7 separate regions of the Homo sapiens genome follow, and regions 1, 2, 3, 5, 6 and 7 are each linked to region 4. Evidence: promoter capture Hi-C in 16 types of primary human blood cells and fetal thymus (Javierre and others, 2016). All regions are on one chromosome and are shown on one strand. The core of a region is centred on a gene start or on the middle of the fragment in contact, and the rest is flanking DNA. Distances in the headings are between cores, read along the strand shown.

Region 1 (3,315 bases), core at 345-2,844, 620 kb after region 4:
TGGACTAGAAACTAATTCTAGTAGTGACTTTGGCACTTGGTCTTGACACTTAAACCTCTGGGCTTTATCTGTAAAAACAGGGTTACTAAACTCTGATTACTTCACAAAGTTGCTCTGATGATCAAACAAATCAAGCAGTACGAAGGTGTTTAAAGAACTATAAAGTGGCATATTAATGTGCAAAGTACTATTATTTCCATTTTTATGTGCAAAGCTCCTTAAGTATAGAGAGAATGGTCTGATCTCGTCTGAGGCCAAAACAGTGCCCCAGCATGGGCTAGTGGGCTTCCTGCACCAGAATGGTAAGAGCATTAACAATGATGATTTATTTATCCTGTGCCAAGTCTGTTAGGCTGTTTGCATGTATCATATCTGATCTAAGTATCCTAACCTCAATCCCATGAGGTGCATAATAATACAAATGAGTTTACAGAGCGGAAATTGAAGTAAGAAAGTTAAGCGATTTGCTTAACATCTTCCGTTGCGGATCTGTTAAGCGATTTGCTTAACATCTTCCGTTGCGGATCTGTTAAGCGATTTGCTTAACAACTTCCGTTGCGGATCTGTCAGACTTACAGTTTCTCACACATCGCGCCCCAGGGATATACTTACTAGGCCTATTGTATTTTGCCCAAGACTGGGTCACACTGCCATGTACTCGACTTTCCTACTCTTTTACGACCTGCAACACCACATCTTACCTGGGGATCTCACCCGCGGCTCTGATTCCGGCAGTCAGGCTGAAATGAAAAGGAAAAAACACGCGTGCACAACACGCACCAATTAGCAAGGCAGTTTTCAAGTCGGCGGAGAATCCGGCCAATCCCCGGCAGGCAGAGGCAAAGGGCCGCCTCTGAGTCTGGCAACGCGCGGGCAAAGCCACAAATACCGAGTTCAAATCTCAACGGCTGCAGGACGGCCAATCGCGACGCCCGCCGGAGCGGCCGGCCAATCACAGCGCCGCCCGGGGGCGGGCCAAGGCTCCGGCTCCGGCCCCCGCTCCCACCCCCGGCCCGCCTGCGAATCCCTCCTTGGCCGCAAGGTCCCCCTTTGCCCAGTCGGCGGGGAGGAGGCCGTATTTCTGCTGGCCAGAGACGTCGCGTCCCTGGCTGGGCATTCAGTCACCCCCAGGAAAGGAGGCAAGTCCACGCTGGGAGTTAGAAGGCATCGCCTCTAATCCAGGTTTCGCCATCTCCTCTGCTAAGTGACGTCCAGCAAGTCACTTCACTTTCAGGACCTCAAATCTCCTCCCCAGTAGTAAAATAGGGGTAATAAAAACAGCTACAGCGGAAGACTGTTGTGAGGCACAGAGAAAGGGCTTGGTCATTGGAAGCGGGTTCCAGGTTCTCAACCTTCATTTCCTTCACGGTTGAAGGACGCCAAAGAAAGCGGAAAGGGTGAATTTTCTTGAAATCTCAGTTTTGGGGAATCTTAGCGACGAGTCGCGGACCTCAGCTTGTCCGGCGCTCCAAAACTTCCGGCAGGCGGACCGGAAGCACTGAGGCGGGAAGGGTGGTAGAGGCCCCTCCTGCCGGAACCCGGGGGGCGGGGCTCGTGGCTGTTGCGGATGGGGCGTAGGTGGGCGGTGCGCCCACAGCTGCCTGGGTAAGGCCCAAGATGGCTGTCTTCGCCTTAGTACTCGTGTGAAGTTGGCGGGGACGGTTCCTGTCATCTTCTTGGGCTTATTTGGTGTGCTGTTGAAGGGGGGAGACTAGAGAAATGGCAGGGAACCTCTTATCCGGGGCAGGTAGGCGCCTGTGGGACTGGGTGCCTCTGGCGTGCAGAAGCTTCTCTCTTGGTAAGTGGCTGATGTAGGCACCCCGATAACTGCTTCGTAGTATAATAGGCGGCTCAGATTAATTCCCTCCCTTCCCCATCCCCAGGTGTGCCTAGATTGATCGGTATAAGGCTCACTCTCCCGCCCCCCAAAGTGGTTGATCGTTGGAACGAGAAAAGGGCCATGTTCGGAGTGTATGACAACATCGGGATCCTGGGTAAGACTTGACCTTCGACGTGGTACACAATTTCAGAATGGCAATTAGGCTGTAACGACTATCTTTTCCTCCTGTGTAGAGAGTGGTACTGTGCTCAATAGTAAGAGCAAACACTTATGTAGCTGTTTACATTGTGTTTGGCACTGTTCTGAGTCCCCTCGTATAATTTTTACTTCATAAGTAAAAATAAACAGTTTTTCCAAAGTTAATAAATGGCAGCATCAGAATTTTAACCCCAAGCAGTCTGGCTCCAGAGTCTGTGCTATTGTTCTGTACTGTAATGTTCCTTGTCTATAGGTGCTGCTCAGCAAGATGCAACCGTGGGTTGAAAGCTTAGCTGGTGTAGGATGAGTTCTCTTGTCTTGGATCTAATGTGTTCTCTCACATTACACAGGAAACTTTGAAAAGCACCCCAAAGAACTGATCAGGGGGCCCATATGGCTTCGAGGTTGGAAAGGGAATGAATTGCAACGTTGTATCCGAAAGAGGAAAATGGTTGGAAGTAGAATGTTCGCTGATGACCTGCACAACCTTAATAAACGCATCCGCTATCTCTACAAACACTTTAACCGACATGGGAAGTTTCGATAGAAGAGAAAGCTGAGAACTTCGGAAAAGGCTCATCTGTCACCCTGGAGAAGGGAAACTGTACTTTTCCCTGTGAGGAAACGGCTTTGTATTTTCTCTGTAATAAAATGGGGCTTCTTTGGAATTTGATAGCCACATACTTTTGTTTTCCTCTAGATGCTGCCTCTACTCATGTAGACTATGAAGTCTTGACTCATCCTAGATCTTAGGATCTTAGGTTTGGGCTTCACACCACTTGCCTTTTACAGTCTAGCTATACCTAATTCCTTTAAAAAGAAAAGTTGGTGAGAATGTTATTGGCGCTTTTTGACATAATGCTGTTATGTTAATAGTGTTTCTAAAGAGCCTTCCACACTGAAATGAAATATAAGAGAAAAATGGAGTCATACTTCTGTACTACTCTCATAAAATATTTATTAGGCATATTCTCTGAGTAGGAACTATAGGAAAAACAAAAAAGTGTGAGGTGTCCTTTCCATTTAAATATGAAACATTAAGTACCATATGAATGGTAGAGATGGCGGATACTAAGCCTGACTGGTCATCAGTTTTCTGGGTGTTTTAACATTTCAAAAGCCTAGTCCTAACCCCTAAAGATTGATCAGTAGAGCTGAGTTGAGTCTAGGGCATCTATGTGTTTTGTTCTTTTTTAATAATAATTTTTAAGAATTACAGCTGGGCAGAATGGTGCCCACATGTAATCCCAGCATTTTGGGAGGCTGAGGTGGGAGGA
Region 2 (3,684 bases), core at 576-3,075, 960 kb before region 4:
ACATATATGATAATCCTACATTTTATATGCTTTCTGGATACCTATATTATTCAATATTTCCAAATATTGGAGGAAAGAAAACCCAAAATAATCAATAGGATTATATGTACTAACATGGAAGTATGTTTTGATATATTGTTAAGTAAAAAAGCAAGACATAAAATCACACATAAATTACCATCCCATTTATGTTCAAAACTACCTTTTAGAAAAATGTGTGTTAGGCCGGGTGGGGTGGCTCACACCGGTAATCACAGCACTTTGGGAGGCTGAGGCAGGTGGATCACCTGAGCTCAGGAGTTCAAGACCAGCCTGCCCAACATGGCAAAACCCCATCTCTACCGAAAAAATATAAAAATTAGCCGGTTGTGGTGGCACATGCCTGTAGTCCCAGCTACTAAGGAGGATGAGGTGGGAGAATTGCTTGAACCTAGGAGGCAGAGGTTGCAGTGAGCCAAGATGGTGGCACTGCACTCCAGCCTGGGCGACAGACTGAGGCCCTGTCTCCAACAAACAAAATGTGTGCTATATTCAGAAAAAAAAAAATCAGGAAGAATGAACACTAACCTATTAAAAATAGTTACTTCGAGCAGTGGAATTGAAAAGAAAATCTTTCATTTTTTTTACCCATTATAATTCTGTATTATTTCAATTTATCTCTTCTAGAACAAAGTATGTTCTATTTTTGTAATTAGATGATGACAATGGAAATAAACTAATAAATACTACTCAACTCTTGGCATTTTTCTTTTGATCTTTCTGCCTCAAAAATATTCCGTGGTGACTTGACTGCAAACAAGCAGAGGAGCAGATATTATGGTTTGGACAAGTTGATTAATATAGACTGAAGCCTATATCACAGACAACAGTGTTCAAATACATTTGACCCAAATAAACTTTATTTTATATGCATATATCTAAAAGAGTATATGCATATATCTAAAAGAATAATATAAGAATTATTTACAGCATAGTATTCATTAAGCAGGAATTACCTTCAGTCTTCTGTACTCCTTCCTGATGAAACAGCACCTAGACTCCAGCCTGTTCTCCAGTGACCACTAAGCTCTCCCACCTACCTCCCCACCTACCTGCCCTCTACCACCTACCTGCCTTTGACTAGGCTCCACTTATAGCCTAAGCAGCTTTTCACCTTTTTCTGTCTCTAGAATTCCTACAGGTACTTAATTAAGTACTTGCCCACATCTTATTTCTATCTTAAGACTCTCCTAGATTGCCCTGGGTTATATATACCCCTGGCTAGAGTGTTCTATTATTTTACTTCTATTGTTACTTCTATTATTATAGCCTAGTTTGTATTACAGCTTTGTGTGTATATGTATGGGTACATATTCCCACTCGATTGTGAATCTCTGGAGATTAGAATATAGCTTAATTCATCCTGATTTTGACATGGCACCGTTTTTCACATATATCAAGCATTTCAGATATGTTATTTGAGATTAATTAAATGAGTTTATTCAGGTCATTCCTCCCCAACCACTCCCCACTCCAACCCTCACATCTCATAGAGTCTTTTTTTTTTCATTTCTAAACAAAACCTATAAAGTTGAACCCTATGTACAGAGGTACCCTCTCTCTAACCATTCTCTGTGTGCTGCAGAAAATGTCTCAGGATTATAAACTCCTACTTCTGTTTTCCTGCTTTGCCTTTCTAAGCCATTTAGAAATGACTCACTTTGAAACTCTTCCTGTGAGGTCAGATAGTGGTCTAGAGCATAAGACTTAACTTATTGCCGGAAACAGAGAGAGAACAGAAGAAGAGAAAGCTCAGCAAATTTTCTTGCCATACTTCATGACTTCACTGTGGCTAAGTGTGGGGACCAGACAGGACTCGTGGAGACATCCAGGTGCTGAAGCCTTCAGCTACTGTCTCAGTTTTTTGGTAAGAAAACCTAGACCTACCTGATGACTTGTGCTTAGCCTGTTTTGCTCATTATAGGTAATGAGTTTGAGTGTCACTATCTTCTATTTCCCCTATTCCTTCTCTGACTTTGAATTCTTTTATCTTATCTCTATGTCTAACTTCCTTTTTCTAAATATTCCACATTGCATTTGTCTTTGCTTTTAATATTTTCATAGTGGAATTAATAGTGAATTTTTACATCATTTCTTTCCTTTCTTTGAATTGGCTATGTATTTCACCCTGAACTTTGATTCCAGCTGTCCCCATTAATTTGTTTTTCAAATAATTGATTGCACTTTTTTTCCCTTTCCATTTCCTCTTTCTTTTTTTTATTCTTTTGCCCATTCCTTATTGCTACTGACTCTGTTATCCTATTACTACAATTTGATTCTGGGGTCCACTTTTCTTTCTCTATCACAGTGGAATTTTAGTTTCAGGATATTAATTACCTTTAAATTACGGCTGGTCAACTTAGTAATAATTTTTTTTAATCCTCTACTAATCTTAAACACATAAAGGTATGGTATTTTTAGCCAAATTAACTTGAAGAAATGTAAAAAGTAATCTTGCTCTGCAGGACTTTTTTTTTTTTTTTTTTTTTTTGAGACAGAGTCTCACTCTGTTGCCCAGGCTGGAGTACAGTAGCATGATCTCAGCTCACTGCAACCTCCGCCTCCCAGGTTCAAGCGATTCTCCTGCCTCAGCCTCCTGAGTAGGTGGGATTGCAGGCACGTGCTACCACACCCAGTTAAATTTTTTTGTATTTTTAGTAGAGACAGGGTTCCACCATGTTGGCCAGGTTGGTCTCAAACTCCTGACCTCAGGTGATCTACCCGCCTCTGCCTCCCAAAGTGCTGGGATTACAGGCGTGAGCCACCACACCCAGCCTTGTTCTAAAGGACTTTTAATCCCTGACTCCTACATACTTTCATTTCAAAACAGATAATAACAATATTTAACATATAGCTCATGACAGATAACTCTATTTTTATTAAAATTTTGCTGTTTGCAGTCCCTGCTACTTCAGTTCATGCAGTTCTCGGCAGCTTCCCCTTTATTAGCAATACCATATATCTTTTTTTTTTTAATGTGATTTTTTTTTTTTTTTGGTAGTAAAAACAGCATTTGCCTAACAGTCCTCGGACCTGAAATCCAAGAACCTCCCTAGTAATGATTATATGCTTGTAATCTAATTTGCTGAGTTTCACTGTCAAACTTGAGAAATAAAAGCAGAGAAAACGTAGGCTGGGCACAGTGGCTCATGTCTGTAACCCCAGCACACTGTGAGGCCAACATGGGAGGATTGCTTGAGTCCAGGAGTTTGAGAGCAGCTTGGGCAACATAGCAAGACCCTATCTCTACAAACAAACAAACAAACAAACAACAACAACAACAACAAAATGAGGAGAGGAGAGATGATTACCAAGTTTTCTTTCAGCCCTAGCATCCCATGACTCTATTCTTCTCTCAATATTTTAGGGGGGTACCGTGATAGTATTTAAATATCTGAGTAGACAAGGCCATGGAAAGGGGAATGAGAATAATTTCTTCTTCTTTTTTTTTTTTTGAGATGGAGTTTTGCTTTTGTTGCCCAGGCTGGAGTGTAGTGGCGCAACCTCGGCTCACCACAACCTCTGCCTCCCAGGTTCAAGCGATTCTCCTGCCTCAGCCTCCTGAGTAGCTGGGATTACAGGCATGTGCCACCATGCCCACCTAATTTTGTATTTTTAGTAGAGACAGAGTTTCTCCATGTTGGA
Region 3 (3,620 bases), core at 891-3,390, 830 kb before region 4:
GGAAGCAACAGTAATCTAGTTTTCTCGGGTCCAGCAGTATCAATTTGAATTCTAGGCCCTCAACCAAAACCCTAAAGGAAGATACACTTTCTCCAATTCACCACTGGGAAAAAGTTTATCTCTTTACCAAGCGTCCTTCACCCACCCTGCCACCTCCAGTACTGAAAGGGTTGCAAGCTACAAATGAATGGGCATTAGGAATTTGATAGTTGATATTCCTCCTCCAAAAAAGCCTAGATACTATCTCTCACTTACCCAGCTGTTTAAACACAAACCAAGTTGTTTTGCTTTGTTTACTCTCAACCTGGAACCACTCTTCTCTCTCCCCGATTATCCCTCCCTCAGTTCTCATTCCTATTTTCTTCTCCTGCTTAGCTTGTTCAGTTTTCTTGTATAGCTTAGTAATCAGATACTTATGTAACACTTTTCTTTCAAGAAACTCACAGTCCATAACTAATAGGATATTAATAATCTTTTCCAGTTATGTGAGAATTACTTGCCCTAGTCCCTTTTTATACTTTATAAAAAGGGAAGAAGGGAAACACTATAAATGACTTGTGGGTCAGAACTCTTTTGTCCTATTATTCTTTTTTTTTTTTTTTTTTGAGACGGATTCTTGCTCTGTCGCCCAGGCTGGAGTGCAGTGGCGCTGTCTTGGCTCACTGCAAGCTCCGCCTGCCGCGTTCACGCCATTCTCCTGTCTCAGCCTCCCGAGTAGCTGGGACTGCAGGCGCCCGCCACCATGCCCGGCTAATTTTTTTTTTTTTTTTTTTTTTTTTTGTATTTTTAGTAGAGAATGGTTTCACCGTGTTAGCCAGGATGGTCTTGATCTCCTGACCTCGTGATCCGCCCACCTCGGCCTCCCAAAGTGCTGGGATTACAGGCGTGAGCCACCGCGCCCGGCCTTTTTTTCTATTATTCACTGAAGAATCACCAGCTTCTTGGAGAGTACCTGATACATAGCGTGTATTCGGCAAATACCTGCTTAATTGAATTCGGTATTTATTGCATTTCTAGATGCTATAAGCTTGAGACTAGCAGAAAGTGATGCAGAATTCAGAATGGGTGATATGGCAAATGCCTTATTAAATATAGGGCTCGGCGCGGTGGCTCACACTTGTAATCCCAGCACTTTGGGAGGCCAAGGCGGGCAGATCACAAGGTCAGGAGTTTGAGACCAGCCTGGCCAATATGGTGAAACCCCGTCTTTACTAAAAATACAAAAATTAGCGGGGCGTGGTGGCGGGCGCCTATAGTCCCAGCTACTCGGGAGGCTGAGGCAGGAGAATTGCTTGAACCCGGGAGGCGGAGGTTGCAGTGAGCCGAGATCGCACCACTGCACTCCAGCCTGGGCGACAGAGAGAGACTCCATATCAAAAAAAAAAAAAAAAAAAAAAAAAGGATATGGATTGTATTCCATAAACAGTTGAACCTCTTATTCCTACTGCCCTGATAGTTGGTCTGGCTCCTAGAAATTCAGATTTTCTTCCCTCCAGGTGAGATTATGCGAAGAAAGGAACACTGGCAAAATTATTTCCCTGATTTTCTTCTCTCAGGCTGTCTTTCCCTCCCCTTTAAGATTGTGTACTCCGTCTCAAAAAAAAAAGAAAAAAAAAAGATTGTAGACCCAGCCTATAAATTCATAGGATCAAGAATTCTTACTAACACTCTTTCTAACAACCTTAAATCTCTGATAGTAGCACCCACTTGACTTCGTTTTGTATGGATAGATTTATTCTAATCTCTCTGTAGATTGTTTTAATCCCAAGCAGATGCGAGAGCATAAAATAGTGTATTTGCCCTCCCTCCAGGCTTTTCTGGTAGTATTTTGTCTGTGAAACTAAGAGGCTCTAGCTGCTATTAGAAGAGGGAAGGAGTAAGGATGAGCTTTTGAAAAAAAAAAAAAAAAAAAAACCCAGGGTGGAGAGAGTGGAAGGATGTGGTTTTAAGAGAGGGGGGAGGGAGGGCGTTATTGTCTGTGGGGCGGGGGCGGGGGTAGTTCTGATAACACAGAATTCCGAGAGATCACAAGATTGCTTCAGGGGGGTGGGGTGGGGTGGGGTGGGGCTGGGGGCTTGTCGCCCTTTCAGGCTCCACCCTTTGCGGAGATTATAAATAGTCATGATCCCAGCGAGACCCAGAGATGCTGTAATGGTAAGACTTTGGATCCTTCCTGAGGACGTGGAGAAAACTTGCTGCTGAGAAGGACATTTTGAAGGTTTTGTTGGCTGAAAAAGCTGTTTCTGGAATCACCCCTAGATCTTTCTTGAAGACTTGAATTAGATTACAGCGATGGGGACACAGAAGGTAAGAATGATATAATTACTGGTTATTTTTGCTTGTTTGGGATACACTCAGAAAGGCAAATATTAATGGTAATCTCCTTGTTCTATTTTCTCCTAAGTCACCAAGCTATCTTAAGGCCTTTTCATTTCGTCTCTAGCCTGCACTGCTGCCGCTTCATCAGTTCTCTTTGAATGTCATACAGTTCTGTTCACCTTATCATAGGAAAGTCACCCGGAGAAGTTGTGTTTGCTTCTCAGGTTTATTTTAGGTAACCATATGCCACTGAGGACGAGATGGTTGAGTGTTTAGAGGATCGGGCTGCTTGGTTGTATGGATTACAAGTGTGGGTCTCAGAGCCAGTGTGAAGACTTCTCTGGAAGCATTAGACCTTGAAAAGGTCTGTGTTTGGAGGCACAGGCCAGGGTCTGGCCATCTGTTTGTCCTATAACATATGGGGTTCGTGGATGCTAAGGAGAAAGAATTCCAGTTGTCCTTCCTATTAGGGTTAAAATCGTGAGTGCAGGACATACTAAAATATTGAGTGTTGTATATGCATTATTTGCAGGGAGAAAGGCTTTTCTTTTTTTTCTGATTGAGTTTTACTCTTGTTGCCCAGGCTGGAGTGCAATGGAGCGACCGCAGCTCACCACAGCCTCCGCCTCCCGGGTTCAAGCGATTCTCCTGCCTCAGCCTCCTGAGTAGCTGAGATTACAGGCATGAACCACCGGGCCCGGCTAATTTTGTATTTTTAGTAGAGACGGGGTTTCTCTATGTTGGTCAGGCTGGTCTCGACTCCCGACCTCAGGCGATCCGCCGGCCTCGGCCTCCCAAGGTGCTGAGATTACAGGCATGAGCCACTGCGCGCAGCAAGAAAGGCATTTTTTACCAAGATAAATTTAACTAAAAATAAGGGGCCAGGTGTGGTGGGTCACACCTATAACCCCAGCATTTGGGAAACCAAGGCAGGAGGATCACATGAGGCCTGGAGTTTGAGACTAGCCTTGGGCAATATAGTGAGATCCCATCTCTACAAAGCAGAAAGAAAGAAAATGTAGGAAAATAAGAAAGGGATGGAAAATTATGAGACTAAAGAAGAAAAGGCTCTCAAAGATAGTGAATGATGAGAGGAGACAGAAGAGATTTTTACTAAACGGAAAAAGATTTAACAGAGCATTGCACTGGCAGGGCCCTCCGGGGTACCGATGCTTAGCTGGGACTGAGACATCTGGGAGGCTGCAGGCAAGGTCACTTCTCCTGCTGAAGCTCCCAGCCTGCTGCCTAATCTGCCCGACCTGAAAGGAAAGGAGTTTAAGATATGAAAGGTTGAAGGGATT
Region 4 (3,321 bases), core at 168-2,667:
TGGGCTCGACCCCAGCCCTGACCATGCTGGACAAGCAGCCTCCAGAGGTTGTGAATAGGATTCAAAAGACCACCTAAGCGCATGTCCCCCACCCCTGCTTGGGGAGGAGGGAAAGGAAGAGAAAGCTCAAGTTCAAGGATCACAAACTTCAATTCTACAAGAGGGAGGCTCCCCGGGTATGTCGTGAACGGAAAGGTCGGGGAGGAAGAGACATGGCTGATTGAAGGCAGCAGCCATAACTCACAAGGAGCCATCCTACACACATGGCAAAAATTAATGTTAAATAGTACAAAAGGGTCGAGTCAGTGCCCTGCCACCCTGACCTCTGAGGGCCAGCGAGGTTTTTGGACGTTTCTCCCCTAAGCTGCGGCGGGCCCGCTGTTCCTGAGTCAGACGGCAGGTGGCGCTCAGCCCGGAGAATTGGAGAAGGGGAACTGTGGAGTTGCTTAACATTTCCAGGAACTTCCTCCTCCCCCACCGGCCTTCACCTTTTGTTCCCTATCCTGGGCCAGTTCTCTCGCAGGTCCCAGATGTCCAGTTCCAGATGCCTGGACCCAGAGTGTGGGGGAAATATCTCTGGAGAAGCCCTCACTCCAAAGGCTGTCCAGGCGCAATGTGAGTGTGGCCCCGGCAGAGGAGGAGGGAAGAGGACGGGAGGGGAAGAGAAAGGGTGGGTGGCCGCAAACCCTCCCTCCCCCCACCCTACCCCCCCCACACACACATCCCCCCCCCCCCCACACACACACACACACACACACCTCCCCCACATACACACACCAGCAGCAGCAGCAGCAGCAGCACAGCAGATATTCCATGGGGAGACTGAAATTTGCCTGTGGCCTCTAGCACCTTCCCAGAGGGTGGTCGGGGGATATTTACGGCAGACCCTCACTCGCCCCACCATTGCTCCCTCGGATCCCAGGGTGGGGTGGGATCTGCTGAAGCAGAAAGCACCCCCCTCCTTTGGACGAGACTCTCCTGGGAGATGAGCAAAGGTGATGTCTTCGGAGGATGGAAAACCCACAATCCTAGAGCTCAGGCTGCGCGGGAGGCTGTAGGGATTGGGGTGAGGAAGGGGAGCAAGGGAGGAGACGGGAAGTGCCCGGGCCTCAAGGGTGAGGCCACAGCTTCTAGCCCTGCCTCGCGAGGCCTCTGAGTCCTAGCGCGGCTCCCCCGCTCCTCCCACACCCACAGGCTTCCGGCCATAGCTGCGCGGCCCCACCTTGCCCTCCCCCCAACTCACAGGTGGTGGCTGCTTCTCTGGGGAGTCCTCCAGGCTTGCCCAACCCGGGGCTCCGTCCTCTTGGCCCAAGAGCTACCCCAGCAGCTGACATCCCCCGGGTACCCAGAGCCGTATGGCAAAGGCCAAGAGAGCAGCACGGACATCAAGGCTCCAGAGGGCTTTGCTGTGAGGCTCGTCTTCCAGGACTTCGACCTGGAGCCGTCCCAGGACTGTGCAGGGGACTCTGTCACAGTGAGCTGGGGATGGGGGGGGTCCCGCCAGGACTGTGGCCAGGGAGATTCCCGGGGTTGTGGGAAGTGGCGGTGCCCTGAATCCCCCATCTGGAGGAGGGATGAATTTTCCATGTAGGGGCAGTCGGGCTTGGCTTACCGGGGAGCAGTGGTGGACCCCAGGACACAGCCTCCCACCAGCGCCTCCGGGGCTGCCATCTGGGCCCCACAGAGCAAAGAGGGCAGCAAGCAGGCCCTGCGTTTGGAAGGCTTATGAATGGACACACAAATCTTGCAAATCTATGGAGCCAGGGGCAGGGACGCACATATTGGTTGTTAAAAATATGTCATCATGTATTTGTTGAGTGCCTGCTCTATCAGGTGAGGAAGCTGGACACAAATAATAACAAAAGATTAAGTCACCGTTCACACTTACCTTGGAAGAGCTATTACAAAACTTCTAACGCCAAAGCCTTATTCAGAATAAGGACATTTTAAAAACAGTACTTGATGGAGTGATGCAAGCTTGCAGTCCCAGCAGTATAGTCAGGAGACTGAGGCTGGAGGATCAGAGGGCTGGAGCCCAGGGTTCAAGGCCAGCCTAAGCAACATAGCAAGACCCCATCTCAAAAATAAGTAAATAATAAATAAAAATAAAAAGAGCACATTATCTTTTGATTTAAATTTTATTTATATCAAAATGACATAAATTTTTGAACTTTATTTTTTAATTTTAAAATTTTTAATTATTATGGATACATAATAGTTGTAAGACTTTTTGTTTTTTAATTAAAGTTTTCTAAGGCTGGGCGCAGTAGCTCATGTCTGTAGTCCCAGCACTTTGGGAGGCTGAGGCGAAAGAAGCACTTGAGCCCAGGAATTTGAGACCAGCCTGGGCAACATAGCAAGACCCCATCTCTACAAAAAAATTTAAAAATTAGCCAAGTGTGGTGGCACGCACCTGTGGTCCCAGCTACAAGGGACGCTGAAGTGAGAGGATCACTTGAGCCTGGAAGGTAGAGGCTGCAGTGAGCTCTGATCATGACACCGTACTCCAGCCTGGGTGACAGAGTGAGACCCTGTCTCCAAAAAAAAAAAAAGGTTTTTAAAAAGGTTTATGAATAACAGCAGTCTCCAAGCTGTTCCTCCCCGCCCCTGAGTGCTGCTCCTCAGGAGCAGTCATTTGCCAATTCATGTAGCTGTTTCATCTGGTCTTTAACTTCATATGTATAAATAACATGCTTATTTGTCTTTCATTTTTACGTATTTTCTATTAATGCTCAACTACAGTATAGAAGATAAGGACTAGCTTTATCTGTCTTCAGTCTTCACCACCCACATTTCCCCTCCTCATTCTGCCAGTTTACCTATATTATCATTTTTAGTTAAATCTTTATTCATTATTTACATTATTATGACTGTAAAATATTCACATCTGAGCACATAGCATAAAATAATTATATTTCTTTTCTTCTCCAACTTTTGGGTTTCCTAGGAGTCAATAGTTACATGGAGTTTTTTTGTTTTGTTTTGTTTTGTTTTTTGGTGGGGGGTGTTTGTTTTTGTTTTGCTTTTTAGTTTGCTTAGTTGTCTCTGTAACTAATCTCACCAGACTCTTAACCAGGAGTGTAAATCTTCTTCTGAAATACTCAAGCATGAATTTCAGTCTATCGGTCCTCCTTTTAATTGGTGACATCCCTCCTGAAGATCTCTCGATTTATTTTCACAGCCTGAGTTCTTTGCTCTCTAAGCCGTCACACATTCTGGGAGTTCTCTTCTCCCTCTTTCTGGGGATTTCCTTTACCTGTGCTGAACCTGAATCCCATACCTTTCTCTTTTTTGGTTTACTCTCCCATTTTGGAGGAGCAC
Region 5 (3,345 bases), core at 742-3,241, 660 kb after region 4:
CCTGGCTAACTTTTTGTATTTTTAGTAGAGACAGGGTTTTGCCATGTTGCCCAGGGTGTTCTTAAACTCCTGGGCTCAAGGGATCCGCCTGCCTTGGCCTCCTAAAGTGCTGGGATTACAAGTGTGAGCCACTGCTCTGGCTTTTTGTGTGTGTGTGTGTGTGTGTGTGAAAAAGGGTTTTGCTCTGTTACCCAGGCTGGAGTGCAGTGATGTGAGCAGCCTGGACCTCTTGGGGACCTCTTGGGCTCAAGTGATCTTCCCATCTCAGCCTCCCAAGTAGCTGGGACTGCAGGTGCACTACCATGACCAGCCAATTTTTTTAGAGACAAGGTCTCACTATGTTGCCCAGCTGGTCTCAAGCTCCTGGGCTCAAGTCTCTACAAAATATGCAAATACCCTTCTGCCTTGGCCTCCCAAGTGCTGGGATTATAGGCATGAGCCACCACATCTGGTGTTGGTTTTTGTTTTTGTTTTTACGGGACCAGGCACTACAGCTCACACCTGTAATCCTGGCACTTTCAGAGGCTGAGACTAGAAGATTGCTTGAGCCCAGGAGTTCAAGGCTGTGGGGAGCTATGATTGCACCACTGCACTCCAGCCTGGGTGACAGAGCTAGACCTTGTCTCTAAACTAAACAAAACAAAACCCAGTACCAAGAGACCCAGTGACACCAAACACGTTTTGCAAGTAGGTAGTTTAATAGTTACAGTTACCTGGTTCTAAAAAGTGTCTTGCTAGAGAACATTTGTTCAAAGGGGCCACTTTAAAGCCTGCTATTCTAGTGTATACTGGCCGTAGTTTCTGAAATTGTAGCGAAGATGGAGAAATAATAACAGCATTCATAAGCACAACTGCAGATATTATACTTCTTAGTTTAAAAAAAACCTTTTTTTTTGGAACTATAAAATAAAAACACAGGCTACATACATACTCATTTTCTCAAATTGGCTTTTGTGCAAAAAAAGGTTGTTACCTATTGGGTTGCTTTGTTATTTCCTTAGAAAGATGTATTCCAAATTCCCAATGGCCAACCTGCACATGTGCACTCTGGGAACACAGTCAGTTTATTGGTTGGGGGTTGCTTGCCCGAAATCTGGGGTCATAGAGCCACTTCTCTCATTTTATTGTCTTGATCCTATCCATAGACCCGTTCTCACCAATCCCTCAAATTCTATTTATCCCTTTCCTGGAATACTAGATGTCTGCCCACGTTAATTCATGCCCCACCTAGGGTGCCGCATTTCCCAGCATTGGCTCCACTTGCTGTGAGCCTTGAAGAAGGCCAAAGCTTTGGCCCCGTCATCCTCCTTGCACCCCCAAACCCGTCACCAGCCTTGCTCCCCCAGATGCTTGTCCATCGTCCCCACCTACACACCCTTGCCCACCTCACCAGAGTTACAGTGCCGACAGCTCTCACAGTGGGGCCGGGTGTGGTGGTCAGGAGAGAAGGAGACCCCCGGTATGCAAGGATCACACTGAGCAGCCTTTCTATGCTGGTCACAGTCCTTCACGAGGAATGTTCCTGGGAGGAGAGGGTAAGGGATCAAGGCCTGAGAAGGGCTGGTTCTCTGCCCTCTTCAAGGTGGTGCCTCCCCACAGCTGCAGGATTTCCCTCCTTGCTTGAGCTCAGTCTCACCCTGCGCCTATTTACTGTATTAACCCCAGTCCTCTCTCTTTCGCCACTCACCTGGCCCTTACCAAGGCCCCCTCTTACCTGGCTCACACATCTGGCAGCACAGCTTTCCCTGAGCCCAGTAGTGCCTCTCTGGGCAGCTCTTGGGGGCTGGAGTAGCTGAGAGCCCCACCAGGGTCCCCAGAACGCACAGCCACCAGGGATGTGGCCGTGCCATGGTCCCTGCCCAGGCGGCTCCTTTCTGTGCCCAGTTGCTGATGCTGGCCTCTGGAGTTAGCACCTCCAAGCTGGGCGCTGCTGTCTCTTCTTTGCACCCCCTGGGCAGTGGCTGCTTCAGGTGGCAAGCCAACCTTTGAAGGCAGAATCTCTATTGTGGCTGTTTTTTTTTTCTCTCTCATAGCAGCAACCTCCACCCCCTTCCCCTTCCGTGTGCTGGGGAGAGTATTAAAGAGCAAACTCTGTGAGACCTGCTGCTCTTCAAACATGCTTCCTCCAACACATGAGCCTTCCTTAGTTTCCGCCTCTCCTGCTCATGAAGCACGTAGCCCACTGACTCCTGCTTCTTTGACAAAAAGGTGATGGACACACAGTTGCTCACCCCTCCTATTCATGCACTTGTGCACAAAGGTGCCCACGTTACCCCCCCCCACCCACCCCCCCGTCCACAGTTTACAGACGAATTCGCAGGACTCCTGTCTCCCATACCTGCATCCCTCCTTTCACAGACAACAGTTGAAAGAAGGAAGGAGAACCAGAATTGAGCACAGGTCCACAAGCTCTTATCTGAAACTTTGGGGGTCAGATAAGTTTTGGAATTCAGAATTTTTCAGGTTTATACAGAAACCAGCACCACAAAACACCCTTGGGGAGTTGGGGTAGTCTCATAATCAAACGCAACATTTCTGCAGCAAAACTATTGAATATTTACACCAACTGGGAGGAAGCTTAAATAGCCTTGTCTCAATTGAGGTCTGGTTTGATGGCCAAACGAGTTTGCTACAGAATGCTCAGAATTGCAAGCAAGGGGTGTAGAGCTGCCTCTCTTCTGTCACACTCTGACCGATCACCTATGCTCTCCTTTAATCCTCATGTCAGTCTCTGATGTGGGTGCCACCTACTGCCCACATGGCCTTCCCTCTCAGACCCTTGCTCACTCCTCACTTTTGTGCCATCTTTATCCTCCCCTTTCCCACCTCTGGCTGTGTCAGTCACTGGTGTCCTGGATCGCCTGGAGCATCTTCTCTCCTAGCCTTGGGCACTTGGGATTAAAGGTAGCTTCCTACGGGGGTCATCTCTTTTTTATTTTCCCAGTTCTCCCAGCAAGACTGATTTCGGGATATTGGAAACAGCTAGACTTTTCCCTCTTTGAGTCATGGGGACACACACGGGTCAACAGCCTCCTCCACTCTTTCCTCAGCAACCGATATGTGGAGTGGCTTATTTCCCCAGGAAGTTTTTAATTTAGGGGCTTTGCCGTTGTTTCCACACTGTTCATAAATGTCACACTGCTGTGGTCACACCTGTCAGATCTGTTCTCTATCTCACTCTGTAGTTTCCTTTCTCCTCATTTTCTCCATTCTCTTGTCTTTTCCCAGCCCCCTCTGCAGCTCTTCATGGGGGTCCACTCAAGTCAGAAGCCACATTTGGGTGTGATTCAGAGAGCTGTTTATGCAAAACCAGCTTTGTCACCATCAGGCAAGGCACCTGAATTC
Region 6 (3,741 bases), core at 1,189-3,688, 570 kb after region 4:
CAGCATCGCCCCACTTGATTTTGGAGGGATCTCGCCTATGGGGGTGGGGGGGAGATGGGGACAGGACCATATTGAGGGACACAAGGTTACCATATACCCAAGGGAGCCACACCATCCTAGTTGCCTCCCCAAAGCACATTTCTTCCATTCTGTCTTCCACTCACTCCTGGAAGATGGTGATGGGATTTCCATTGATGACAAGCTTCCCGTTCTCAGCCTTGACGGTGCCATGGAATTTGCCATGGGTGGAATCATATTGGAACATGTAAACCTGGGGGAATACGTGAGGGTATGAAGGGGCTGCCCATCAGCCAGGTGGCTCCTCCCACACCAGCTTTGGGGCTCACCATGTAGCACTCACCATGTAGTTGAGGTCAATGAAGGGGTCATTGATGGCAACAATATCCACTTTACCAGAGTTAAAAGCAGCCCTGGTGACCAGGCGCCCAATACGACCAAATCTAAGAGACAAGAGGCAAGAAGGCATGAGGAGGGGAGGCTCCTCCAGAATATGTGAGCAGCCCTAGGCCACCTCCCCATTAAGAGGGCGAATGCAGCATCTCCTTACCCCCAGGAGGGCCCAAGAGGTTGAATTTTATCTCCCTTGAGCTTCCCTGCCAGGCTGGCCTGGCTTAAGGCATGGCTGCAACTGAAGGCTCCAGGGCTGCCCAACACCCCCAGTCATACGAAGCCCTTCCAGGAGAAGCGGCCATGTGGGGCACTGCCACCCACAGTCTGGGCACAAGCTTTGTACATGGTATTCACCACCCCACTATGCCACCCCAGGAATGCTTGCTGCTGCCTAGCTCAGCTGCACCCTTTAGGGAGAAAACGCTTGTACACTCAGCATCATCAAACTCAAAGGGCAGGAGTAAAGGTCAGAAATTAACTGGACAGGGCAAGCCCACCCCTTCTCTAAGTCCCTCCTACAAAAGGGACAGAGACTGGGGCGGGTGGGAAGAGGGGAAGCTGTATTTTAACCCCCTAGTCCCAGGGCTTTGATTTGCCAAGTTGCCTGTCCTTCCTAGCTCTTTTCCAGAAATCAGGAGTGGGAGCACAGGTAAGTGCATGTGTGTGGGGAGAAGGGATGGGAGAGAGCCCCAGCCCAGGCCCCCAGCTACAGAAAGGTCAGCAGCTATATTTAACCTCAGACCAGGGTGCGGTGGGAGATCTGGTTTCCGGAAGACGGAATGGGGAGAAGGGCAGGTTCCCCGAGGCGCCCAGACACCCAATCCTCCCGGTGACATTTACAGCCTGGCCTTTGGGGTCGGGTCAACGCTAGGCTGGCAGGGGAAGGGCGGGGCCGTGAGGTGAGCCGGCGCTGCAGGAAGGGGCCACCACCAGAGGGGCCATTTTGCGGTGGAAATGTCCTTTTCCAACTACCCATGACTCAGCTTCTCCCGGCTTGGCACCATGCCACAGCCACCACACCTCTGCGGGGAGGGGACACAAGAGGACCTCCATAAACCCACTTCTTTGATTTACCAGAGAATAATCTAGGAAAAGCATCACCCGGAGGAGAAATCGGGCCAGCTAGCCTCGCTCCACCTGACTTCCCCGCCACACGCGACTCCACCCATCGAGGCAGGAGCGCAGGGTTAGTCACCGGCAGGCTTTCCTAACGGCTGCCCATTCATTTCCTTCCCGGTTGCAACATGGCGGCCGCTCTACCGCAGGCGCAGCATCCGGACAGGGATGCACCCGCTGCGCACTAGCATCCCGGGGCCTGCGGTGCCGGAGGCCGTGGGGGAGGGGCTCCTCTGCGACACGTGACCCCGCAGAGCGCGAAAGGAAAGAAAGCGTCCCCCACCTAGGGGTCCGGGTCGGGATCTCGGGCGGGAGTAGGGACCTCCTGTTTCTGGGGACTAGGGGAAGGAGGCTCCGGGCAGATGGCGCCGCAAGGGCGGAGCTGCACAGGGCGCCACAGCCTGGGTGCGGGGCTCCGCCAGGTCCGAGCGCTGACCTTGAGCTCTCCTTGCGGGGAACAGCTACCCTGCCCCCATACGACTGCAAAGACCCGGAGCCCGCAAGGCTCGTAGACGCGGTTCGGGGGCGGTCGCAGCCCAGGGCCCCCCAGCCACCCGCGAACTCACCCGTTGACTCCGACCTTCACCTTCCCCATGGTGTCTGAGCGATGTGGCTCGGCTGCGCGGAGGGAGAGAACAGTGAGCGCCTAGTGGCCCCGGCCGACACACACGCCTCCCCTCCCCTCCCCCACCAGGCCTCCATGCCCAGCCCGCGCCGCATCACGTCCTCCGCCCGCCCCTGCAATGCGGAGGCCGCCCGGGCCCACCCCGCAGCGGCGCGAACACATCCGGCCTGCGCCCGCCCCTGCCGCCTTCAGGCCGTCCCTAGCCTCCCGGGTTTCTCTCCGCCCGTCTTCACCTGGCGACGCAAAAGAAGATGCGGCTGACTGTCGAACAGGAGGAGCAGAGAGCGAAGCGGGAGGCTGCGGGCTCAATTTATAGAAACCGGGGGCGCGGCGGCAGGCGGTGACTCGGACCCCGCCTCCCGCCAGGCTCAGCCAGTCCCAGCCCAAGGTCTTGAGGCCTGAGCTACGTGCGCCCGTAAAACCGCTAGTAGCCGGGCCCTACTTTCTCCCCGCTTTTTTTTTTCCGCAGCCGCCTGGTTCAACTGGGCACGCACCGAGCGTGTGGGCCCCGACGTAGGGGGGAAGGGACTGAGATTGGCCCGATGGGAGGTGATCGGTGCTGGTTCCCAGGACTGGACTGTGGGCAGCAGGACACTAGGGAGTCAAGGACGGGGACCCTTACACGCTTGGATGAAACAGGAGGACTTTGGGAACGACTGAGATGGGGAATTGGAGCCGGAGCCCAGCACCGCTCGCGGCTGCACGCGGCCTGCCCCCTCCCCTTTCTTTCTTTCAAAGGCTGAGAGGCGGGAAAGTTGGGGAACTTCTCCTCGAGGCTCTGCGGTAGTGACACCGGACTGCTCAGGCAAAGGCCTAGGAGGGGCCCATGGGCCTCGGGCGGGGGCCCGTGGTTCCTTCCCAGCCCCCACTTCCCCCTCCCCATCTCCTGGCTCCTGGCATCTCTGGGACCGAGGCCTGGGCTGGGCACTGGGCACTGGGCACTGGGGGCCTGGAGAGGAAGGAGGCTCGGGAGGCGGCTTGAGGGGGAGGGGGAGGTTTCTGCACGGAAGGTCACGATGTCCTGCAGCCCTGTAGCCTGGACCTGATAATTAGGGCAGACAATCCCGGCCCTGTGTGCACCAGCGGCTCTCTCCGGGCTGGGGCCCCAGGCGGAGGACAGGATGGCTGGTGGGGGCCCAGAGGCCTCCCACAAAGGCACTCCTGGAAACCTGTGGGCTGTGCTGCCTAGGGAGAGAGACAGTGTGCCTTTCATTCCATCCAGCCTGGGGCGAAGAGCGGGACGTGAGGGCGGAAGTCCCTCCCCGCCCTGGGACGTGCAGGCGAGCCAGGAGCCAGGGACTCCCTTTCACTGGCTGCGCCGGGGGATATTGAGGGCAGGGTGAGTCAAGAAGAGGGAAAAAGTGGGAAAAGAGGTCTTGGGCACACGGTGGGAACAGGTCCCCTGCCCCCTCCCACAGGGGATCCATTCTTCTGGTAGGAGGGCAGAGGGCCAGGTTTGTGAGTGTGGGATGGGAGGGTGCTGAACACTTGTAAGGAAGGGGGTGGGGTGGGGTGGCCTTGGCCCATCAGCAGGTGCATGGGAGGGGGATCCCGGGCCTCTTTGCTGGCCCAGCATAACCTGACACCAG
Region 7 (3,576 bases), core at 1,008-3,507, 640 kb after region 4:
CCTGCCTCAGTCTCCCGAGTAGCTGGGACTACAGGCGTCCATGCCCAGCTAATTTTTGTATTTTTAGTAGAGACGGGATTTTGCTGCGTTAGCCAGGTTGGTCTTGAACTCCTGGCTTCAAGTGATCCGCCCTCCTTGGCCTCCCACATTGCTGGGATTACAGGTGTGAGTTACTGCGCCTGGCCCTTTTTCTTTTCTTTTGGAGATAGGGTCTCATTTTGTCACCCAGGTGGGAGTGCAGTGGCGTGATCTCGGCTCACTGCAACCGGAACATCTGGGCTCAAGCTGTCCTTCCGCCTCAGCCCCCCAAATAGCTGGGACTACGGGAGTGAGCCACCACGCCCGGCCCCATTCTTTTTGTCTTTGGGGGCTTATAATTTTTTGCAAATTTTCCCAAATTGTCATTTTTCCCCCTAACTTGCCATTTTGATGTGGTTTCAGGAGGAGAATGGGATAAACACATATGATGAATGCATTATGTTTCCAAGTGCAATTGTTTCCTTAAGAAGACTTGTGACATTTGGATAGATAACTTTGGTGGACTTTTTAGAGAATAGATGTAAAGGATGGCAAGACTGGAAGCAGAATGATGTATCATTGATCTTAGGAGGCACTTGGGTTTTTTGTGTGTGCTTGTTTGTTTGTTTTTTTGCATTTCAATATCTTCTAATTGGGATGTTTCACTTTAGCTATTAGTCAGACAGCAGTCAAACTATATTTGTCATACCTGCTCATGAGCATCAAAGCTTGCCAAATGGGTGTCTGAGGCTTGGAAGAAAACTCTAGAGCCTGGAGAGGAACACTCTTAGGAAATGCTGCATCACCAAAGCCCTTATGAAATGCACAGAGGACTACATTGCGTGGAAATTAGTGGACATCCAAGACTGAGTCAAAAAAGTGAATCATTAACAATCAGTCTCTGTGAAGTTTTAGGGATAGTTACCATGTTATTGTTTTCTATTTCCCTTTTTATGCATGCACAAGAGTGAAATATAGAAATCGGTATGTATATAAACCCATATTTTCAATACATGTAAAACAAAAATGCTAAGTGGTAAGGAAAGCATTTGTCACAGATAATTTGCAACCTTTTTTCTTTTTTTTTTTGAAACAGGGTCTTGCTCTGTTGCCCAGGCTGGAGTGCAGTGGCGTGATCTCGGCTCACTGCAACCGTCGGCTCCCGGCTTCAAGCGATTCTCTTATCTCAGCCTCACGAGTAGCTGGGATTACAGGCGCCCGCCACCATGCCTGGCTGTTTTGTATTTTTAGTAGAGACAGAGGTTTCGCCATGTTGGCCAGGCTGGTCTCGAACTCCTGATCTCAGGTAATCTGCCTGACTCGGCCTCCCAAAGTGCTGGGATTACAGGTGTGAGCCACTGCGCCCGGCCTTGTAACCTTTTTTCTTAGCGGGACATAAAATAATGGTGAATTTTCCAACTGATGGAGTCCAGGAAAGGGATAATAGTGAGCAGAGGGGAGATAATCACTGGAATGCCAAGAAGGAAAAATCAACTCGATTTGGCAGATTACTGGGGGAGAGGTAAAGGTGAAGGGGAGGAAATCTAGGATGGTTTCCACGTTTCTGGTCTGGGCAACTGAGTCGATGTGGTAACCTCGACTGGAGCAGGTTTGGGAGGGAGTTCAATTTAGGAAGGCTATGTTGAAAGAAACGAATGAACGAAAGCTTCGTGCTTGCTTTGGTGGGACGGAACCCCGCATCCGGTATCTGGCACCAGGAGCTTGTGGCTGTGTCTCGAGGCTCCTGCACCCTCTCAGAGCGTTAGTTAGAGGCGGGGCGGTGGTGCGGAGCGAGGGCCAGAGCAGGGCACCAGGGCTGGGCGCGCACCAGGAAGCCGCCGCCTCCAGCTGAATGCGCGAGTCCCGGCGCGGGGTGGGGCAGGGGCGGGCACGGTCTTCAGTAACTGCCTAGCGATTGGTTGGGAGGCACCACAAATGCCTAACAAACTGCTGAAGCGCCCTCCGAAGGGACAGACCTCATCTCCACCCCGCCCCGTCCCTCCGCCAGACTGGAGCGCAAACTATGGTCGCATTGATCACTGAAGGATCCTCACAGCAACCGCTCCTTTCCGGAGTCGGATGAGAGGAGAGTTGTGACTGGCAATTGGCAGGGGCGGGGCGGGCTAGGCCTGTAGCGCTGGGCGACCGTCCTGGGCATGGATTGGGCCGCGGGGTTGTCACCGTTATCCGGGAGGCGTGGTCAGCACTAATAAAGGCGGAGGCCGGCGCGGCAGCTGCAGTAAGTTCCAGCGCAGCTAGACCGCGGGGTAGTCGGCGCGAGGCGGAGCTTGGCAGTTCCGTCCACTTCAGCCGCAGCGTCCCTCACCGGGTGTCTCGCCGCAGCCTCCGGAGAGGAACAGACCCTCACTCTCTCTGTCAGAAAAATGTGAGTTGACTCTGGTGTGGGGGCTCGGCACCTCCTTGACAACTCTCGCCCCAAGCTCCCGATTCTGCGGGACGGAAAATGGCGCAATGCAGCAGCTGCAGCAACGCGGGGAACTACCACCGCGCGCCGCTTCCGGACCGGGCCACCCCCAGGGAGGGGGGCCAGCACCCCATTCTCGCACCAGCCACAGCTAGCACCCCACGGGCGGGGCAGGGGCGCAGGGGTCCCACAATCATTGCACCCTCTCCTCTCGTCTGAGTGGCGCCTCATTCTGGTTTTGGTATAGTGGAGACTCGGAGAGGGCGGGGGCTGGGGGTGGTGGATGGAGACAACTGGGCAGGGGACTCGAAAGGTATTTCTGTCATCTGGCTAAATCACTACTCAGCGCCTCAGGAAAGACAGTCATGGGTGCAACTGCCAGTTGGTAACTTATGTTGCCCTACAATCTCTGGATTTGTTTACCCCTCACCCAAAGTGTGATGTCTAGCCCCCCTCATGGCAGTGAGCAAAGCTGCAGAAACTTATCTGCCAGTTCTCTGGCACCAGGTGAGCAGCTCAGAAAGACTCAAGGGGTAGTGGGATAGTGGCCTGTCATCCCAAGCGGCTGTTCATACCAAGGCCATTCGTATAGGAGATGTTTTTCTATCACCGAGTCTTACCAAATAGTTGGAGGAGAAATAGGGAGAGCTGAGCTTTCCCCCTTTCCTCCAACACACACAGTTTAGTCTCCAGCAGTCTTCAACATCACCCCCTTCGCATGATCTTGAGGGAAAACTACGGCTAAACAAACGAAGTACTTCTCTGTCAAGACCTCAATATGTCTAATACAGATTTTTCTTTCTGATTACTACCCTGGCCTGGTCCTAGATGTATTTATGTTGCTTCTCTAAGTGACAAAAAAGGGAAAGATTTACTTGTGTTACATAAGGGTTGTAATTATCCCTAGATATTTTACTGTTGAGTGTTTCCAACTCCCAACAAGTAGTAAGTGAAATTGGCCTTGCAAATACTTCATAGCCATTTCACTTTTTCTTTTTGATTTCTATGGTTTTAACCAGATATGAGTGTTCTATGCATTTTGGGCAAGCCGTAGAATTCCAGTTGTTTTCATTTTGGGGAGGGGGCTTCCAGATAGTATCTACGTGGGATGAACAGAAGGCAACAGAAAAATC

The links. Contacts are between HindIII fragments. The CHiCAGO score rates a contact against its expected background, and 5 or more counts as called.
Region 1: a contact is called between the fragment with the promoter of MRPL51 here and the fragment with the promoter of C1RL-AS1 in region 4, in 10 of 17 cell types (activated CD4 T cells, non-activated CD4 T cells, naive CD4 T cells and 7 more). The highest score is 15.1, in activated CD4 T cells.
Region 2: a contact is called between the fragment with the promoter of C3AR1 here and the fragment with the promoter of C1RL-AS1 in region 4, in 4 of 17 cell types (activated CD4 T cells, total CD8 T cells, non-activated CD4 T cells and 1 more). The highest score is 7.2, in activated CD4 T cells.
Region 3: a contact is called between the fragment with the promoter of SLC2A3 here and the fragment with the promoter of C1RL-AS1 in region 4, in 15 of 17 cell types (monocytes, total CD8 T cells, erythroblasts and 12 more). The highest score is 16.5, in monocytes.
Region 5: the fragment with the promoter of CD27 here is called in contact with the fragment with the promoter of C1RL-AS1 in region 4 in 5 of 17 cell types (activated CD4 T cells, naive CD4 T cells, non-activated CD4 T cells and 2 more); the score reaches 11.6 in activated CD4 T cells.
Region 6: a contact is called between the fragment with the promoter of GAPDH here and the fragment with the promoter of C1RL-AS1 in region 4, in 6 of 17 cell types (activated CD4 T cells, non-activated CD4 T cells, naive CD4 T cells and 3 more). The highest score is 9.0, in activated CD4 T cells.
Region 7: a contact is called between the fragment with the promoter of VAMP1 here and the fragment with the promoter of C1RL-AS1 in region 4, in 2 of 17 cell types (activated CD4 T cells and non-activated CD4 T cells). The highest score is 7.5, in activated CD4 T cells.

The regions. Positions count from the first base shown.
Region 1 is chr12:6,491,541-6,494,855 of GRCh38, reverse strand. It overlaps MRPL51 (mitochondrial ribosomal protein L51), which reads left to right and starts at 1,594. Exons shown (of 3, transcript NM_016497.4): 1 at 1,594-1,798; 2 at 1,884-1,994; 3 at 2,389-2,970. The coding sequence starts at 1,720. The coding sequence ends at 2,585. It overlaps NCAPD2 (non-SMC condensin I complex subunit D2), which reads right to left and starts at 754. Exons shown (of 32, transcript NM_014865.4): 1 at 702-754. RefSeq lists a silencer at 797-1,126 and enhancers at 562-1,159, 1,327-1,376. The HindIII fragment of the contact is 4,003 bases long and covers 1-1,789 here.
Region 2 is chr12:8,064,500-8,068,183 of GRCh38, reverse strand. It overlaps C3AR1 (complement C3a receptor 1), which reads left to right and starts at 1,825. Exons shown (of 2, transcript NM_004054.4): 1 at 1,825-1,906. The HindIII fragment of the contact is 7,875 bases long and covers 1-3,684 here.
Region 3 is chr12:7,934,707-7,938,326 of GRCh38, reverse strand. It overlaps SLC2A3 (solute carrier family 2 member 3), which reads left to right and starts at 2,140. Exons shown (of 10, transcript NM_006931.3): 1 at 2,140-2,307. The coding sequence starts at 2,293. RefSeq lists a cis regulatory region at 1-113, a silencer at 1,962-2,011 and an enhancer at 3,079-3,620. The HindIII fragment of the contact is 4,746 bases long and covers 1,030-3,620 here.
Region 4 is chr12:7,106,404-7,109,724 of GRCh38, reverse strand. It overlaps C1RL-AS1 (C1RL antisense RNA 1), which reads right to left and starts at 1,417. Exons shown (of 12, transcript NR_026947.1): 1 at 1,244-1,417; 2 at 778-1,052. It overlaps C1RL (complement C1r subcomponent like), which reads left to right and starts at 511. Exons shown (of 6, transcript NM_016546.4): 1 at 511-615; 2 at 1,246-1,474. The coding sequence starts at 545. RefSeq lists enhancers at 570-649, 1,290-1,459, 292-1,491. The HindIII fragment of the contact is 2,026 bases long and covers 1-1,979 here.
Region 5 is chr12:6,443,601-6,446,945 of GRCh38, reverse strand. CD27 (CD27 molecule) reads right to left here and starts at 1,991. Exons shown (of 6, transcript NM_001242.5): 1 at 1,715-1,991; 2 at 1,391-1,522. The coding sequence starts at 1,850. CD27-AS1 (CD27 antisense RNA 1) reads left to right here. Exons shown (of 6, transcript NR_015382.2): 5 at 3,229-3,345. RefSeq lists enhancers at 711-830, 1,540-1,719, 1,750-1,809, 1,354-1,855, 2,760-2,809 and 1 more. The HindIII fragment of the contact is 1,289 bases long and covers 1,291-2,579 here.
Region 6 is chr12:6,533,214-6,536,954 of GRCh38, reverse strand. GAPDH (glyceraldehyde-3-phosphate dehydrogenase) reads right to left here and starts at 2,438. Exons shown (of 9, transcript NM_002046.7): 1 at 2,386-2,438; 2 at 2,094-2,145; 3 at 362-461; 4 at 165-271; 5 at 1-35. The coding sequence starts at 2,122. GAPDH-DT (GAPDH divergent transcript) reads left to right here and starts at 2,548. Exons shown (of 2, transcript XR_002957397.2): 1 at 2,548-3,491. RefSeq lists enhancers at 1-336, 1,885-2,658, 2,659-3,432, 3,433-3,741 and silencers at 2,147-2,286, 3,007-3,256. The HindIII fragment of the contact is 4,237 bases long and covers 749-3,741 here.
Region 7 is chr12:6,469,358-6,472,933 of GRCh38, reverse strand. VAMP1 (vesicle associated membrane protein 1) reads left to right here and starts at 2,257. Exons shown (of 5, transcript NM_014231.5): 1 at 2,257-2,404. The coding sequence starts at 2,403. It also overlaps a transcript of TAPBPL not described here. RefSeq lists silencers at 1,706-1,965, 2,176-2,225, 2,726-2,775. The HindIII fragment of the contact is 5,218 bases long and covers 1,687-3,576 here.